2 separate regions of the Homo sapiens genome follow, and region 2 is linked to region 1. Evidence: promoter capture Hi-C in 16 types of primary human blood cells and fetal thymus (Javierre and others, 2016). All regions are on one chromosome and are shown on one strand. The core of a region is centred on a gene start or on the middle of the fragment in contact, and the rest is flanking DNA. Distances in the headings are between cores, read along the strand shown. Region 1 holds the start of KLHL36 (kelch like family member 36). Region 2 overlaps ZDHHC7 (zDHHC palmitoyltransferase 7).

Region 1 (5,773 bases), core at 1,874-4,373:
GAGTTAATACATGCAGAGGGCTTACAGCACTGCCTAGTGCTTAGAAAACTGGAATTATCATTATGGCAAAGAAATTGTGTAAGAGGAAAATGTTGAGAGAACAATATGAACCAATTTTTTTGAATGATGTAGAAATGAGTGTTTGTTTTATTTTGTTTTGTTTTTGAGACAAGGTCTTGCTCTGTTACCCAGGCTGGAGTACAGTGGCACAACCACAGCTCACTGCAACCTCGACCTCGTGGGCTCAAGCAATCCTCCCACCTTAGCCTCCCAAGTAGCTGGGACTACAAATGCATGCAGCCATGACTGGCTGATGTTTAATTTTTTTTTGTACAGACGAGAGTCTTGCTATGTTGCCCAGGATGGTCTCGAACTCCTGAGCTCAAGTGATCCTTTTTCCTCCCAAAGTGCTGGAATTACCGGCATGAGCCACTACACATGGCTGTTTGGTTTTTTGTTTTGAACTTTTCTGTATTGAGAGTAGCTGAGTAAAGCATGCATTACTTTTATAATTTGGGAGGACACAAAACGTTACTGAAAGAAAAAGACTGAGAGAGTGGTTCACAAAGTGCTGTTGGGGAACGCAGGGTGAAGCCAAGTTAGCCGAGTCCACACCGTTTTCATGTCAAGGTCATGTGTGGATGAGCTTGTCTTAGGCCCTTACTCCGGCCCCCATACACCAGGTTGCACGTCTTCTCATTCATGATGAACACAACACCCGGAAGGCCGATGTTCATGCTGAGTTATAGGCTCTACAGCGAAATCTCTTGTTAGATAAATAGATAGATAGATAGATAGATAGCATAGATACCCATATATAGAGGTGCATGTATCCATTTATCTATATAAGAGTTATAGGCTCTTAAAATATCTACAGCTAAATCTCTTGTTAGACAGATAAATAGATATGATAGATACCCATATATAGAGGGGCATGTATCTATTTATCTACCTATATCTATTTATCAAGAGAATCTTTAACTCTAGCTGTAAAAAAGAATATGTCCAACTCTTGGTGCTCCGTGTATTGCCCCAACACAGTACTCACCACGCTAGGACCATTGCTGATTGACTTGTTTTCCTGTCTTCCTAAGAGCCCTGAAAGTTTCTTCTTTGTATCCCTGGCACCTACTACAGTGCCGGCCACACAGCAGGTGTTCCTGAAAAGTCTGTTGGATGAATGAGAGGCAGTGCATGAATTCATGTCAGAACAGAGATCCATCCACATGTCGGTATGGAGACAGAATAACAGGAGGATTAGCTTTGTCTGGGGTAGGGACAGGTCCAGGAAGGGTCAAAGACAGGCAAGTAAGGCTTGGCAGGGTGAATGTGTACAGTCCCCAAAGAAAAGGGGAGAGAGAGAGAGAGAGATGGGGGACAGCAATCCAGTCAGTGAGAACATCATTTAAAGATCCTTGGCTCACACCTGTAATCCCAGCACTTTGGGAGCCTGAGGCAGGCAGATCACCCGAGGTCAGCAGTTTGAGACCATCCTGGCCAATATGGTGAACCCCATCTCTACTAAAAATACAAAAATTAGCCAGGCGTGGTGGTGGGCGCCTGTAATCCCAGCTACTCAGGAGGCTGAGGCAGGAGAATCGCTTGAATCCAGGAAGTGGAGATTTCAGTGAGTTGAGATTGAGCCGTTGCACTCTAGCCGGGGTGACAGAAAGACTCTGTCTCAAAAAAATAAATAACCATCCCGGCTAACACGGTGAAACCCCGTCTCTACTAAAAATACAAAAAATTAGCCGGGCGAGGTGGTGGACGCCTGTAGTCCCAGCTACTTGGGAGGCTGAGGCAGGAGAATGGCGTGAACCCGGGAGGCGGAGCTTGCAGTGAGCCGAGATCCCGCCACTGCACTCCAGCCTGGGCGACAGAGCGAGACTCCGTCTCAAAAAAAAAAAGAAAAAAAATAAATAAATAAATAAATAAAATAAATAAATAAATAATTAAAAAATAAAGATCCTGTAAGTGGGCTGGGTGTGCTGGCTCACACATGTCATCCCAGCACTTTGGGATACCGAGGCACGAGGATCGCTTGAGCCCAGGGGTTCAAGACCAGCTTGGACAACAAACTGAAACCCTGTCTCTATAAAAATCAAAGAAAAAAAAATAGCCAGGTGTGGCAGCCGGCACCTGTGGTCTCAGCTGCATGAAAGACTGAGGCAGGAGGATCACTTGAGCCTGGGAGGTGGAGGCTGTAGTGAGCACTACACAAAAGAAATCGCTGATCCTTCAGCAGCCATTTCCCACTCCAGCAACTCCCCGCCCCTGGCAACCACTCATCTACTTTCTGTCTCTATGGATTGGCTTGTTCCGGACATTTCACATACACGGAATCATACAGTGTGTGGTCTTTTGTGTCTGGCTTCTTTCACTAAGTATTACATCTCCAAGGTTCATCCCGCTGTAGCATGAGCGAAGTGTGACAATTGATAGATGGATCGATGAAGGTTACATTCATTCATTCCATACACATTTACTGAGCACCTACTGTGTGCCAGTCTTGGCGACGACCCAGTCAGGAATAGAACTAACAGTAAACCCTGCCCTGGAGGGCTTCTGGTAGGGAGGAGAGACAATAAACCGAATAAACTAGTACATTATTTGGAATATTAGACGCTGATAAGAGCTCAAGTGAAGCATGGGGTTGGAAGTTGGGTGCAGAGAGAGGGGCTGTGACTTCGAGCAGAGCGGTCAGCAAAGGCCTCGCCGCAGGGTGGCCGCAGGGACGCTCCCGCTCAGCCCGGAAGGAGGCGAGAGGCGCGGTGCCCGTCCCGGCGACTCTGGGCCAGCAAAGAGCTCCCAGCGCACGCGTCGGTGCCTCGAGGCCCGGGACCCTGCGTGTCTGGTCCCCGCCGTGGCCCTGCGTCCGTGACGGTGGGTGGCACCAGGGAGCATTTCGCGCGGCGGGGCTGGGGCCTGCCTTTGAAGGGACGGAGTCGGGCGTCGTGGTGGGGTGGACACCGGGGATCCCCGGGGCGCGGACGAGGGGGGCGTCCACCCTGCGAGCTCACCCCACGGCCCCCGCGTCCCGCCCTCAGCCGCAGGCCCCGCCCCGCGCCGCCCGGCCCCGCCTCCCCGCGGCCGCCGCCATTGGCCGCGCGCGCCGCCTCCGCCCTCGGCCTCGCACTTCCTGGCGGAGCCATGGCTGCGCAGCGGGCTGGCCGGGGGTCTCCTGAACCCGGGCCCCGCCGCCCCGACCGCCCGGCCCCGCCGCCGGGGCTGTCCCCGCCGCGTCCGTAGCGCGTCCTGCCAGGTGGGCCTCCGCGCGCGCCCACCCTCCAGCCCGGGACCGCCAGGAAGCCGCGCCCGGCCGGGGCGGGGAGCTGGCGGAGATCGGGAGGGTCCCCGGCCACCGCGAGCCGCGACCCCCCTGCGCCCCTTGGTGCCGGGGCGGGCGGGTGGGCGAGTGGGGGCGCCGCGGCCGGGGGAGGGGCCGCCGCCCCCGCAGGTGACACAGGTGCGGCCTGTGCGGACCGCCCCGCGCGTGGCAGGTGAGTGGCCCCCGCCCCGGGCCGTCCCGACTCCGCCTCCTCGCCGCCGGCTGGAGCCTGCTGGGCGGCCGTTGCGCTGAGTTCCGCCTGGGCTGCGGGGTCCGAGCGAACGACAGCGGCGTCCCCGGAGACCCCGCCGGCGAGCCGGTGTCAGCAGCGTCGCTTTCTCCAACGCTGAGGTCGGGAGGGAGCTTGGGGAGGAGGCGCTCTGGGAAACCCCCGGCCGGACGGGGCCTGCGGTCCCATGTTTACTGGAAGACCTTTTCCAGTGACCTGGGATTGTCACTGTGCTTGGGGGTGGCCTTGACCCTTCACCTGCTTCCAAAAAGCGTCGGAGGCCGCTGACGTCCAACACGGGTGGAAATCAGACCCCACCCCCACGCACTTGCAGGAGACAGCAGGGAGCCTCCGGCCCCGCGAACTCTCTCTAGGTATCTTGGCCTAGAAAATAAAGCGTTGAGCGTTAGAAGGCCTGGTTGATTCTGGGCAGGCTGCCTGGGGCGGTGGAGAGAGAGGGCACCTGCTGCTTGCTGTTCTGTGACCTTGGGCAACCCCCCCTGGGGCACCCGAGCGCCAGGTCTCACTGTGGGAACGACGGTGTCACCTCTCAGCGTGAAGGTGGAATGAAGTCGAGTCCGCGGTGGGCACCGCACCAACGCTGGGTTTCTTCTCTTCCCTCTCTGGGCTCTCCAGCATCCTAGGGGAGGGCCGGGGTGGGAACAGCTTGTCATTGTCACAAAGTTTCTAGTTTGTCGAGAGGAATCCAGTTGCCCCTTCTCTCCCTAGGGGAGTTGCACGGGACGGACTGTGCCCGAATTCATTCCTTCCATGGGAACACTGGAGTGCCCTCCCTGTGTCCCCAGTTATCTAAGAACAGTGCTGACTTCTTGTCACATTGTTCTTTATTAGTGAAGACTATTTGTTCAATAGGTAACAAACTCTTCTCATGAACTCAAATAGCGGGGGAAAAAAATCCTCTTTAAAACCTTCGTCTCAGTATGTGACTTGTGCTAATATTAGTTGGCAAAGTCCCTTCTCTGTGTTCCCTTCCATCTTTGAAGCACCTGCCCCTCCCCCTGCCTCCCCCGCCCCCCACACACCAAAGCTTAACTCTGTCTGCAGTGATCCCCCACCCAAGAGCCAGGCAGTGTAGCCTAAGAGTTAAGAGCATGGGCGCTTCCCTGAGCTGGAATCCCAATTCTGCCAGTTCCCAGCTGTGTGACGCCGGGCAGCTTATTTCACCTCACTGCTCTCAGCATCCTCCAGTCACAGTGCTGGCCTCATGGGGTTGCAGTGGGGACTAAGTGAAGATGCAGAGAAGCACTTGGGGACAGTGTGTGTCTAGAATGTACTGTGTACATGGTAGTCATCACTGTACCACATCCTCATCTGCATCATGATATTTTTAAAGTGTGATACTCTCGAACCCGGGCCTCATTCAGCAGCGTGTCATGGTGATGGATCCAGGTTTTGAAGCTGGACAGACCGAGGCGTGATTCTCGGCCGTTTACTAGCTTTGTGACCATGAGATCAATATCCTCATCTGTGAAATGAAATAAGTGATATCAGCCTGGCCAAGTATAATCTTTGTGGGGGTTAAATGAGATGGCACACTTAAGTCACTTAGCTTGGTTCGAGGGCTGTAGTCTGGGCTCCGAAATGATAACTTATCATTATAACCTTGATGTAGCCAAAAGGTAATTATTTGTAGGAAGTGAACCAAATGACATGATATCAGATTTTAGATGATAAAGGAATGGGAGTTAAATGTTCTGTCCAATTCTAACAACCCGATGATTTCTCAACTCGGTGTAAAAGAGTTCTTTGTAGTGCACGGTCCTCCCTCCCTCCTTCTTCCGTGTGACTGTTTTCACTGTCATCCTTGGTATCTGCTAGCAGGGCCTGAAATTAATGAATGACCTAGAGTTATGACTGCATGCTCAGAAATCCTGTTCTTCTCCTAGGGCTGAAATCTCTTTAATGATGGAGGGAAGCAGGCAGACGCGAGTGTCTCGGCCATACAAGATCAGCGAATCATCAAAGGTCTGTGAATGTTCACTCACCACCTATGCAAATTGCCTAAGAAGTGTGATCCTTTTTCTGATTCACTCATTTCTAATCACAGACTGATTTTTTTGTCATTGGTGTTGTCAGTCTCCTTAATGACAAGTAAAGGTGGAAACGGGCAAGGAGCAGAAATTGTCATAAAATCAGACAGTGGGAAGTATGAGGGATGGTAGAGACGCTATGGCCAGATGTCTTCATTTTTCCAT
Region 2 (5,608 bases), core at 1,444-3,943, 330 kb after region 1:
CCAGGATTTGAATAACCCATGTAATAACCCGAAGTATTCTCCACAGAAGCCCCAGCTCTGCAGGAGGCCACGGCGTTTGGCTTCTTCGTGTGGCCACACACCTTTCCGTTGTTGTACAGGTGGGGACTGAGAGCCTCTTCCTCTGCCATCTGTGACTATAAATATATAAAACTCTGCTTGCTGCAAGCAATTGGTTTGTGTAGGTTCCAGTTGCCCTGTTGGTCACAGATGAGCTGTTGATATCCTTCAGACCCCAAATAAATAACTGGAAGTCTGTGAGCAAGTTTCAGTCTGATGAGCCACGCCTCACACTGAGAACTCCGGGCCACCTTTTCTGGGTCTCGTGGGCAGTCGCCTAAATCGGAAGCCCACAAAGGGATTCATCCAGAGGAGTGAGGGGGGCCCCCCAAAGACGGACTTCATCCCTTCCCATCGCAGCCTCCGCTCCCATGTGGGCTTCTCACTTTTCAATCGCTCGATCTCCTGGAAGCAGAAAGAAAAGCAAGTGGCAGCGGCTCCAGGAAGCTCGGCAGACCCCACCAAGCCTCAGAATCACACCGTGCTCAAGCACAGTGTGGGCTCGATGGAGGGTAGGTGAGTGAACTCTCCTTCCCAGCTCTGCCCCGATCCAGACCCCGTGGCCTCTGTGAGCCCAGCCCGGCTGCAGCCACGTGGCCAGCCCAGACTACCACAATGGCCCTCCCAGCCAGGCACCAACATTTGTCGCTCGTTAGTTACTGTGTACAGACATTTACTGAGCGCCACTCCAGGCCTGCAGAGCCAGGCCCTAAAGGCAGTCAGTTCCCTGAAATTTACTGACTGCACTGGGAGCTGGGAATCTGCCTGGCTCTGCTGACTTGCAAATCAAACTGAGACTAGAAATATGCACTGCCCAGAATGAAAGAAACAGCAAACACAGGGAGCTGGTTGCAGCTCATCAAGACCGTCCCATTACGTTCCCGAGTCAGTCCACAGGCACCTATTGTTGACATTAGGACTTTTCATTTACTCAAGCTTGGACCACATATGAAGTCCACACAGCCGAGAACAAAGCTTACCGTCTCGTCGTTGCATATGGAGTGGATTTGGGTGCCAAACATAACTGCAGTGAAAGTGAAAAACAGAAGACCCTCAAGGCACAGGAAGATCAACAGGATTACAGTTATCGGAGGTGAAAAATCACTGCATTCTGCGGACAAGAGGAAGTTGGTTATAACTGGTCCTGAATACCCCGAGTGGCAGAATGTTTGGCTCAGAGAAGAATCCTCTAGGGCCAGCCCCTGGCCAGCTTCCAGGGGGAAGTTGTTCACTTTCTAAATGGGCACATTCATTGTTCTCCAAGGAGCAGAGGAGGGCCACCCTTCCAAGCAAAAATTCATACCATGACTTCCTGGCCAGTGGTTTCAAAAGAGTCTGTATTTTCTGAGGTTTCTATTGACACTGTATTTATGAATTAAATGGCAAATGAAGCCAGACCAGAAGAGTTGTGTGCACCCATACCAGTGAGCAGTGCTCACAGGAGTCTGTTCACCATGTTCCCCTGGGGTGGGATGAGCCTGTCCAGACCTCACTGCATATCTAAGGTAGGATAACGAGCACCTATTTTCACTACACTTGCTTAGGGTCGGTCACTCACGTAAGCAACGTGAAGCCTGCTTTGAACAATGGCGAGCTAGCTGACCAGCAGACAGACACAAGCTTTTGGGGCAACAATATACTAGTAAAATGGTGGTGTTAAAACTTAACTAAATTCTTTAAAATTCAATTGCTAAAATAATTGCAATGATTTCCTTCAAAATTGGAAAACTGGTTCTTCCTTTAAAGCTTTCCCCTTTCATCCAATAACAGCATGCAAAGCCAGGAATGACACATAGCCAGGGAACTTACCAGTCCACTGCCCTCGGACACAGGAGATGAACTGAAATCCACAAAGGATCAGAGCATGGACTGAAGACAGAGCTATATACATCTAGAATGAGGGGGAGATTGGTTAGTCACTTTTATTTTTTATTTTTTTTAGAAACAGAGTCTCCCTCTGTTGTCCAGGCTGGAATGCAGCGGCGTAGTCTCAGCTCACTGCAACCTCCGCCTGCCAGACTCAAGCGATTCTCCTGCCTCAGCCTCTCAAGTAGCTGAGACTACAAGCACCATGCCCGGCTAACTGTTTTGCATTTTTAGTAGAGATGGGGTTTCACCATGTTGGCCAGGCTGGTCTGTAACTGCTGACCTCTAGTGATCCACCCAGCCAGTTAGTAACTTAAACAAGTCTTTCTAAGAGCAAAGGCTGATGACACATCATGTGTATACCTCCATCTTGTCAGAGAAAAAAATGAGGGAAGGATTAAATGGCAGCAGTTGACATTTTCCTACCCAAGATCATATTAGACCAAGTAGAATAATTTTATAGAAAAATATAGCTGGGCATGGTGGCTCACGCCTGTAATCCCAGCACTTTGGGAGGCCAAGACGGGCAGATGGCTTGAGCTCAGGAGTTTAAGACCAGCCTGGGCAACACAGCAAAACCCCGTCTATAAAAAAATAAACGGCCGGGCACGGTGGCTCACGACTGTAATCCTAGCACTTTGGGAGGCCGAGGTGGGCGGATCGCCTGAGGTCGGGAGTTCAAGACCAGCCCAACCAATATGGAGAAACCCCATCTCTACGAAAAATACAAAATTAGCCAGGCGTGGTGGTACATGCCTGTAATCTCAGCTACTTGGGAGGCTGAAGCAAGAGAATCACTTGAACTTGGGAGGCGGAGGTTGCAGTGAGCTGAGATCACACCACTGCACTCCAGCCTGGGCAACAAGAGCAAAACTCCATCTCAAAAAAAAAAAAAAGAAAAAAAGAAAAGAAAAAGGAAATAAACTCTAACATACTTTAGGAAGATTCCTGTTATTATTAATAAACAATAGCGATTGAGGACATCTGGGAGAGAATTAAATTACAGTGAACACCTAAAATAATACAAGCAACATATTACTTATTGGGACTACTTCCTGCCAATGACAGCACAGTATTATAATTTGAATCCTGGAGAAAAGGCTGGAGAGAAACTGGCCTGACGTTAGTAGATTTCTCTGCTCCAGGCAAGAAGCAGTTAAAGAATTTCAAATTCAATGTAAATTCAATACAAAAATATTTTTACTTACAGTGAAGAGCACAAAAAATCTTTGATTCTTTTCTCCTACACAATTGTTCACCCACGGGCAGTGATGATCCATTTTCCGAATACATCTTTTGCAAATACTGAAAAGGAGAGTTTGATTTTTCAGTATTCCATGCTCTGAGGAAACCAGAGTAACACAACCAAATAAAATCAAAGGTGGAGGAAAATTAGAATGTATATTCTAATACAACATGTCAAAAAATATCATACATTCTCACTATATTCCTTTAAGGTTTATCATTTTAATTAAATGTCTTCCGTTTCCTAAGGAAAATACTCAATGGACCAACAGCTTGGGGCGAAAGGTCAAACTAAGCCATACTTCACGAGTTCTCAGACACTCCCCCAGTAGAGCTGGATCATGTACACCTATCAGTAATGTTCCTAATTTTGCAAGCTTACAAGTCTATTTCAATAAAAAACAAAAACTGAAATTTTACCCTCAAGGAGAAACATTCTTTGTATCTTCAAATAATTCCTACCACTGAATCCATATTCACTGATGAATATGCAGTATGGATTGCATATTCATCTTGAATCATCAACTACACACCCAGGCATGAAGTCGTCTTGTTTTTAACAGCTGTATTTTACTTTTGCCCAAAACACTCTGTATGTCCAATTTTAAATAACTAATTTGATTATCGATTACTTTTTAGTCCAAGCTTGCACCATTTAATTACATCAAGCAGACATCGATGGCAGCAGGTTCGCTGCAGGCAGACTTGCTATCATAGCGTCACCTTTTTTTTTTTTTTTTTTTTTTTGAGATGGAGTCTTGCTCTGTCGCCCAGGCTGGAGTGCAGTGGCGCAATCTCAATCTCAGCTCCCTGCAAGCTCTGCCTCCCGGGTTCACGCCATTCTCCTGCCTCAGCCTCCCGAGTAGCTGGGACTACAGGCACCAGTCACCATGCCCGGCTAATTTTTTTTTTCTATTTTTAGTAGAGATGGGGGTTTCATCGTGTTAGCTAGGATGGTCTCGATCTCCTGACCTCGTGATCCGCCCACCCCGGCCTCCCAAAGTGCTGGGATTACAGGCGTGAGCCACCGCACCCGCCCATAGCGTCACCTTCTTCTTATTCATTGACCTTGGCTCCCTGCCCGACCTCCACAGCACCTGACTTCCAAAACATTCCCATTTTATCTTCAACAGATTTATTGAAGTATAATTTATATACCATAGGTCAGGCGAGGTGGCTCATGCCTGTAATCCCAGCACTTTGGCAGGCCGAGGCAGGTGGATCACCTGAAGTCAGGAGTTCGAGACCAGCCTGGCCAATGTGGCAAAACCCCGTCTCTACTAAAAATACAAAGATCAGCCAGGCATGGTGGCGGGCGCCTGTAATCCCAGCTACTAGGGAGGCTGAGGCACAAGAATCGCTTGAGCCTGAGAGGCAGAGGTTGCAGTGAGCCGAGATTATGCCACTGCACTCCAGCCTGGGCGACAGAGCAAGACTCCATCCCCCCATCCCCAAAAAATTTATATACCATAAAAGTTCACCCATTTGCAATGTACAATTCAATGATTTTTATTCTATCTGCAGAGTTGTGAGACCATCACCATCTAATTTTTGAACATTCCCACCATCCCAGAAAGAAACCTCACCCCATATGCAGTCACTGCCTATTTCTAACCCCAGCCCAAAACAGCCACCCATTTACTCTCCGATACCATTTCATCTTTCTTTACTTTCTGGCCAAACCATGAGGATATGAATCTCTTAAAGCTTTCACTCCAGCCATAAAGCAGTCAGCACCCTGTATCTGGGTTTCCTCCCGTTGGAGGCCATCAATGGCTTCCAGCCTATTCAAGCAGGCCACGACCCCCCAGGAGAAGGGCACTGTCCAGGTGCAGCCTGTCACACAGTACAGGGACGTGTGACAACTATTTCAAGGAATGGAGAAATACACCCAGACATTCACACTTCAACACGTGAAATCAACAGCCAGCCCCTCCAGGAGCAGAAAAAGGAGTCAGGAACTGGCAAATGTGGGGGAAGAGGATAAAATGCAACCAAGACCAGCAGGGGTGAGGTGTGAGGGCCAGGAAGGCTACTTGAGCCAGGCAGATAACTGGACTGTGGCTTTTAAAAAATACAGTAACTGGTGTTTGAGAGCACGCCCAAATAAATACAAAAAAACAAAACAACAAAAAAATGAGAGCACATCCAAAAGAACCTTGCTTCTACGCTGCACCACCACCCCAGGTAAGAACAAAAGTGAACGCACAACAGCCTCTCTGGCTGGCTGGAAGAACCCAGAGCAGGAGTGAGGGGAAGGTTCTGAGCCTTTCTTCTGGCCCCCACACAGGATGTGCCCAGGAGCTGTGAGCACACACGTGCTGGCCTGTGTGGCATGTGTGCCACAACAGAGGCGGGAACCTTGTCACCTCCTCCAGTTGTTGAGCCACAGCGAGTCCCTCGGGAAGGAGGGGATCCC

Evidence for each region. The method cuts DNA at HindIII sites, captures the fragments that hold promoters and counts their contacts. A CHiCAGO score of 5 or more calls a contact.
Region 2: a contact is called between a fragment that was not itself captured here and the fragment with the promoter of KLHL36 in region 1, in 4 of 17 cell types (endothelial precursors, monocytes, M0 macrophages and 1 more). The highest score is 6.4, in endothelial precursors.

What each region holds. Positions count from the first base shown.
Region 1 is chr16:84,645,388-84,651,160 of GRCh38, forward strand. It overlaps KLHL36 (kelch like family member 36), which reads left to right and starts at 3,124. Exons shown (of 5, transcript NM_024731.4): 1 at 3,124-3,262; 2 at 5,465-5,543. The coding sequence starts at 5,481. LOC105371376 (a long non-coding RNA gene) reads right to left here and starts at 4,192. Exons shown (of 4, transcript XR_933817.2): 1 at 4,105-4,192; 2 at 3,816-3,941; 3 at 1,049-1,169. RefSeq lists silencers at 2,788-2,957, 3,018-3,207, 3,418-3,697. The HindIII fragment of the contact is 5,630 bases long and covers 1-4,603 here.
Region 2 is chr16:84,976,037-84,981,644 of GRCh38, forward strand. It overlaps ZDHHC7 (zDHHC palmitoyltransferase 7), which reads right to left. Exons shown (of 8, transcript NM_017740.3): 5 at 3,153-3,249; 6 at 1,888-1,969; 7 at 1,059-1,189; 8 at 1-483. The coding sequence ends at 307. Among named protein-coding and RNA genes, the nearest start is that of ZDHHC7, 33 kb to the right of the region's middle. RefSeq lists an enhancer at 295-1,494. The HindIII fragment of the contact is 1,742 bases long and covers 1,823-3,564 here.